Linked DNA regions of Homo sapiens: region 2 is linked to region 1. The links are contacts of gene promoters, found by promoter capture Hi-C in human tissues and cell types (Jung and others, 2019). All regions are on one chromosome and are shown on one strand. Each heading gives the region's core, a stretch centred on a gene start or on the middle of the fragment in contact. The rest is flanking DNA. Distances are from core to core; before and after follow the strand shown. Region 1 holds the start of DCAF7 (DDB1 and CUL4 associated factor 7). Region 2 overlaps TANC2 (tetratricopeptide repeat, ankyrin repeat and coiled-coil containing 2).

Region 1 (3,323 bases), core at 195-2,694:
TTTTTTTTTTTTTTTTTTTTTTTTTTTTTGTATTTTAGTAGAGACGGGGTTTCACCGTGTTACCCAGGCTGGTCGCGAACTCCTGAGCTCAGGTAATCCGCCCGCCTCGGCCTCCCAAAGTCCTGGGATTACAGGCGTGAGCCACCGCGCCCGGCCAGTTTTACTCTTCTTAAATCTGATGTTCATGGCATAAAGCAGGAGTAGTGGCTTTAAATATCACTAGCCACAGCTTTCAGTTGCTCTGATCGCTATCATTCACAACTTTGAGTAAAAGGAAGAAAGAAAATTCTTCCAACTGACTTATTCAACTTTCAAAAATGAGTTTGTTGCAATGCCAGTTTAAAAGCTCCCCTACTACACCGTGCTTCTATAAAGGATTCTCAAATTGATGTATGTCCAGCAAGACTTACTACTAAAGGTCACACAACTGTACTAGCACGAAACAAGCCAAGAGATAAGGCCCTGTCATCCTTCTGTGTTCAGGAAACAACGGCGGGATCATGCCACAGGCCAAGATTTCCAAAGAGATTGCTTTAGAGAGAATGGATATCAGGAAGCAAGAGCAACAGTAATTCTGGCAGAAGGGCTAGGATCCATGAGTACCCGGGGGGGGTGGGAGTAGGGGGCGGGGAAGCTTGTACAATAGATCGTCTTAATAGAAATCTAGTGTGGCCAGGAGTGCACGACCACCAATAGAAGCGCCTGCATTTTCCTTCACAGCTATCACTCTCTCTTCCCTTCCCCGCCCACCAACGAAAGCAATGCGGCAGGAGTGGAGAGCACGGGATGAATAAATGGAGTATCTTTGGGGCGTAAACCCGGTTTTAAGACCTGTTTCCACCCCGAAATAGCTGCCTGACCCAGGCAAGTCACAAAACCGTGCCTCAGTTTCCCCACTACACTGCCGACTACACAAGAATGCTGCCTGGATTAAAGGAGACAGACAACGAGTACGAAACCTTCAGCACAGGGCCAGACAGAGGAACCGCTCCGTGGCCCTAGGGCGAGTCCGCAAGAGGGTTCTGAGGCCTGGGCTCCGGCCCGGAAAGGGCGCTCCCGGGGCCCGCTCCCCGCCAGCTGGGTTCCGAGCCCCTGCCCGGCCCACCTTGTTGTTGTACTCCTCCACGAAGCTGCCCAGCGCCAAGCGAAAGCGCTTATCGGGCCGCACACTCCAGTTCATCGCGTAGACTGTCCAGGGCGCTTCATACTTGTAGATCTCCTTCCGTTTGCCGTGCAGGGACATGGTGGCCACGGGGCCGCAGTACGGGCCGGGTCAACAGTGGGCTGCGGCGGGCGGGGAGCCGAGCCTGAGATCTATGGGTCCGAAGGGAGGAGAGGAGGGGGCGGGCAGGAACGGCCTAACCCGGAAGCGGGGATGCGGCGACAAACAACGACGACGGCCGAGCCCGACCCCTAGTTTCAAACCAGCTTGGGAACGGACGACAACCACCTTCCGTTTTGGGACGCCGCCCCGCCCTCTCGGAACGGAAGCCGCCGGACCCCCGCAGCGGCACCGGCCGTTGGTTGCCTGACACGTCCTTTCGAAAGGATTCTTTCTTGTCATTGGTTATTGCGGCCGTAGCGTCTGAAATCTCCTCGCTATTGGGTTAAATGTTTGTCATTGCAACTACTCGCCCCGCCCAACTCTCGGAGGCAGGCGCTTTGGCAGCCCCAAAGGTCATTGGTTGGCCAAGATGTCAGTCAGGCAGATAACGGCTCAGTGCGGGTGGTGGGGGCGTGGGTGGCCTGGAGGCGAGCGTGCTGTAGCAGCGGGCCTCCAAGTTCTAGGCCAAGTCTCTGAGAGTGAAACCGTCTGTGACCTGCGCTGACTTCCCCTCCGCTGCTGCTGTTCTGAGCGGCCTCTCCACGCTGTCGAGTAAAAGTACAATTCTGCCTTAGTGGAAGACCTACTGACTTTCGCGGGACAGAGCCCTGCGGCCTGGCAGCCTGGCCTGCGCCCAACGGGTACCACCTTCCCGCCCCATCTCTTCCCAGGGCCCTTTTAACCCGAAAGCTGCTCTCTCCGTGCCTCAGGGACAGGCTTCGGGCGCGCAGATGCGCTCAGGGCCAGGCCAGCTTGAGTCAGGCCCTCCCGCGCTTTCCTGCAGGATCTAGAAATGTCCCCGAATTCTGGGGTAGGCACCGACCCGACCAGCTTGGCTCTGTTTTTGTCAGTTCCCATCCTGTACCCTTCCCGCCGTGGATCCCAACGCAAATGCTAATCCAGCCCCAAAGGTATCTGTGCCTGTGAGTTGGAAAAGGGGAAGGGCCAGAGACCAAATGACACCTTTATATAAATTATTTCCAATTCTCAGCTTTCATCAAAATTGAAGGAGGTTTGTATTGAATTGTTGGATGATAACATTAAATACTTTTTTTTTTTTTTTTTAAAGACAGGGTCTTGCCCTGTCACCCAGGCTGGAGTGCACTGGTGTGATAAGGGCTCACTGTAGCCTGGACTGCCTAGGTTCAAACGATTCCCCCACTTTAGCCTCTGGAGTAGCTGGAACCACAGACATTTGCCACCACACCTAGCTATTTTTAAATTATTATTTGTAGAGATGAGATCTCTCCATGTTGCCCAGGCTGATCTCGAACTCCTGGGCTCAAGCGATCCTCCCACATCAGCATCCTAAAGTACTGGGATTACAGGCTTGAGCCACCATTCTGGGCACTAAATATAATTTTTAATGATAAATGATTTTTCCACCTCCCAGGTTCAAGTGATTCTCCTGCTTCAGCCTCCCGAGTAGCTGAGATTACAGGGGTGCACCACCACAGCCAGCTAATTTTTGTATTTTTAGTAGAGATGGGGTTTCACCATGTTGGCCATTCTGGTGTCGAACTCCTGACCTCAAATGATCTTCCAGCCTCGGCCTCCCAAAGTGTTGGGATTACAGGCGTGAGCCACCGCATCTGGCCAAGAAATCCTCTTTTTTTTTTAATTTTATTTTATTTTTGAGATGGAGTCTCACTCTGTCGCCCGGGCTGTAGTGCAGTGGCACTATCTCGGCTCACTGCAACCTCTGCCTTTAGGGTTCAAGTGATTCTCTTGCTTCAGCCTCCTGAGTAGCTGGGATTACAGGCGCCCGCCACCATGCCCAGCTAAAGGAAATCCCCTGTAAGGAGGAAAGTTTAAAAACAAATTTAAAAAGGAAAGAAAAAGACGTACAAAATTCGCGGTACCTTGTCTTATTCTAATAAAAAATAATGATATTTATCCACAGATATAGGAACTAACGGGGGGAGGAAATTTTCTCTTTTATGACGTATATTTCCAATAAAATTTTAGTTTTTATTAGAAAATTGAATATATATTTATG
Region 2 (3,323 bases), core at 224-2,723, 400 kb after region 1:
CAGAACTAGGAATCATTTTACTCTGCTGACCCCTCATGCTGTAAATATGTAGTAGTTGTATTCACTGTGGTTTAACATCAATTTTAATGAGCAGGAATAAACAAAAGACCTAAAACCAAGTCTTCCAAGGTCCTTCCTTTACTAATGCTCTAATCTGTATACTCAGCTAGAGCTGTGAACATTTCTGACACAGCTCTATAGACTGACTGTAGAGAGAGTGTAAAGGATGTTGCCAGGCAACTCATCTAAGTTTGAAAGAATCTAAGCATTGATAATGAGTCTTTCTCAGTTTGGCTCCCACACAAGAAGGGTTTTAGTGAACTCTCACATGTGTTTACAGGCCATTCACAAGAGGTATTTCTAAAAGTAAGTATCTGTATCCAAAAGGAGTCCATCTCGGAAACCTATATTTCTTTTCTAATTCAAGTTTAATGTTTCCAGCATCACAAGTATTTTCTATAATCACCAGAAATCCAACAGGAATTAGGCATAAAGGTTGTATGCAAAAGTGTTGCATAGAACACTTTTGTGTCTAGTGTTGAATGAATATTCTTATTCACATCTTCAACATTTCTGTTTGCACATGGCCACAGCAAAATTTCTTTAAGTATCTCAAATCACAAAAGTAACCCTACTTACCTAAAACTACTTATCTACCAAAATTATTTTAATTCTTTTGAAAATTACCTTTGAAATTATTTTCAATACTTACTCTCATTATTGTATCAAAGTCAAAACAGGGCATTCAGTAAAAACTATGTTCTATTAAGAAGAATAGGCAATCAGTTGCAAAAGAGGTAACATGTTTTTATGAGTAGTATACATGCAAAACACTGCTCTGCTGGATGGGCCTGATCCAATCCTCCCTCTTTCAAAGCAGACACTTTGCATGCATGCTTACCAGGGCAGTATGCATCCACGTCCAGTTTCTGAGCTGAAGTGAGGGTTGGTGAGCCAAGCTCGGATTCTGGAATTCGTGGGCTCTCAACAAACTTTGCCTTCCTCAGAGGGGCTAAGAACAAAAAGAGAGAGAGAGCAAGCAAGAGACAGAGAGAGCAAGAGAGAAAGAAAGAGAAAGGAAGGGAGAGAAACAGGGAAAGAGAAGGAAAAAGGGAAAGAGAGAAACATAGAGGGGTCATGAGTAAGGGGAACAGCAGGCAACAGATGGAAGCACTTAAATGAACGACACACTCTGTCAGACTCAGATCAGGTTACCCTATTTTTTGAGCCAGAAAAAAAAAAAAAAAACTAACTGCATTCTTCATAGAGGAGATGGGTCTTGTTAAAAGTCACTGAAAACTGGAAAAGCTAAAATCTAATATTCAAAACTATTAGTATAAATTGTGATTGTCTGTTACCTTATTTCTCTCTCTTTATAAAGCAAAGAGCTTTCTTACTTTGGCTTCTTTTGCCATTAAATACAGATGTTAACTAAGGAAAGCACAGGACTATGTTTCAAGGTTTTGTTTATAATAACTGTAATCAAAAGGTTTTTGTTATCCAGAAATAACTACTCTAATACTTGGTCATGATAAACACCATAAGTAGGATTAAATATAAGCCATCAGGCCTAATCTACGTAGCTTAACAAGAAAATCAATTACCTTACTTCTCAGCTATTAATGTAAGAAGTCAAAACTGCTGGTGGACTAAAGCATTAACTAGGCCCTGCTAGTTTGACACTAGAAGCTAAAGACATGTGATTTAGTTACCAATTTAATCATGATGCCTATGGAATATTAATATCTCATGCCATGGAATCCATTCATTCTTGTAAGGAATAAAGTATAACTCATGAATTGAAAGTTTTACTTATTGAAAGTATGTACACATTTTATTTACTAATTTTTAGGAGGAAAAATTCAGGAATGCTATTGATACACATTCGAATAATCAGTTATTGTAAAAGTTAAAATATGAGGATTGCTTAGGTGCTTTCAAACTGAGTTCTATTAAATAAACTATAATAGGGTGACAGTGCTTAGCACAGTACTGGCACAAAGTATTAGTTGAATCTGAAATTGATTTGTTTGTATTATATATTAGTGTCATAATCATAGGTGGCCAAGACATGTGTCTAAGATCACATTACTTTTCTCAAAAGTTTCTGCATGTTCTTCAAAGTCCTCATCCATTACTGACCCACAAGAGATTCTACGTTATTCCTAAAAGACCCTGTAAAAAGTAATATACAACTCTGTTATCACAATGGTCAGAAATCTCCTTCATTTTCTTTGAAGGATAAAAATCAAGTATTAAAAGTATATAGAAACTATTTTCAAAATGTGTCAATACTCAAAACCAACAGACAACTAAGTCACGCTTTATACCTTAGGGTATGTATATTTTCAGTATATGTTAAAAAATAATAAAGCCTGTTACTGTCTCCATGGCAACAAAGGCCTAACATTAAGAGTCCTAACAGTATGGTTCTGTCAAAAGCAAGCTTTGGAATAGCAGAACTCTCACCTTTGCTATGAGTGTGAGACTTGAGCCTGTTTTTAAAAATCATTATTACAAATAAAGATCTCAAGTGATTTATATGTATATATGCAGGCTACTAATAGCCAATATTAGAATCTCTTTCATTATAATTTCACCAACAGATTTAAAAATAATGAAACAGTTTATTTATTCAATACTGCTTAGTATAGGAAAAATGATTATATAGTAATTTAATCCTTAAGGCTCTTAAGTCCTTTACTAGAATTTTATTAAAGCATTGTCATGGCATCAGAGTAACTGTTTTACCTGCTGAGTTCTGACAAAGACAGCACAGGTCCCTGCTCAAGGGACTCTATATATCTTAAAATCTTAAAAACATTTTTTAAATAATGAAATTTAGGGCTAGTAGACAGACCAGAAACTTAAGGTAGAAATGTAAGAAAAAAAGTGAAGGATGGCAGGAGAACTTAAGGGAGGTATGAGGCGTGTACAAGAATTATGAGATGAAGTCAAGGGAAAAGATCAGGGTTCTAGAGATCATACAGAAAAAAGGAAATAGCTGAAGACTGTGAAGAGAGTATGGACTATATGGTGTTAATCAGAAGTTAAACAGATCTGGCAGAGGAAAAAAAATAAAACCTCTTACTAAAATACACAATTCTCCAGCAAAGAGAGTTATTTTAGATCTATGAAGCTCGATGTATACCAACTTCTTTATTTTCCCTTCTCAGGAAATTCCAACTGAGGTTATCTTTATAGCTCACAGGAGACATTTAATTCTTTCTTCTATCTACTCTTCACCTCTTCCCTCATCCATGGGGTACTGTGCTTGTCTAATAATAAAGTTAAACTGTTTTATAAGGTAGATGATAATGGTG

What was found. Contacts are between HindIII fragments. The study calls those that stand out against the background at their distance.
Region 2: a fragment that was not itself captured here is called in contact with the fragment with the promoter of DCAF7 in region 1 in 1 of the 25 tissues and cell types used here (dorsolateral prefrontal cortex).

Annotation. Positions count from the first base shown.
Region 1 is chr17:63,548,598-63,551,920 of GRCh38, reverse strand. DCAF7 (DDB1 and CUL4 associated factor 7) reads right to left here and starts at 1,444. Exons shown (of 7, transcript NM_005828.5): 1 at 1,106-1,444. The coding sequence starts at 1,243. It also overlaps a transcript of KCNH6 not described here. RefSeq lists silencers at 951-1,100, 1,121-1,170 and enhancers at 1,321-1,400, 1,841-2,230, 1,530-2,514. The HindIII fragment of the contact is 12,507 bases long and covers 1-3,323 here.
Region 2 is chr17:63,148,959-63,152,281 of GRCh38, reverse strand. TANC2 (tetratricopeptide repeat, ankyrin repeat and coiled-coil containing 2) reads right to left here. Exons shown (of 28, transcript NM_001394998.1): 5 at 902-1,012. Among named protein-coding and RNA genes, the nearest start is that of TANC2, 180 kb to the right of the region's middle. The HindIII fragment of the contact is 6,371 bases long and covers 1-3,323 here.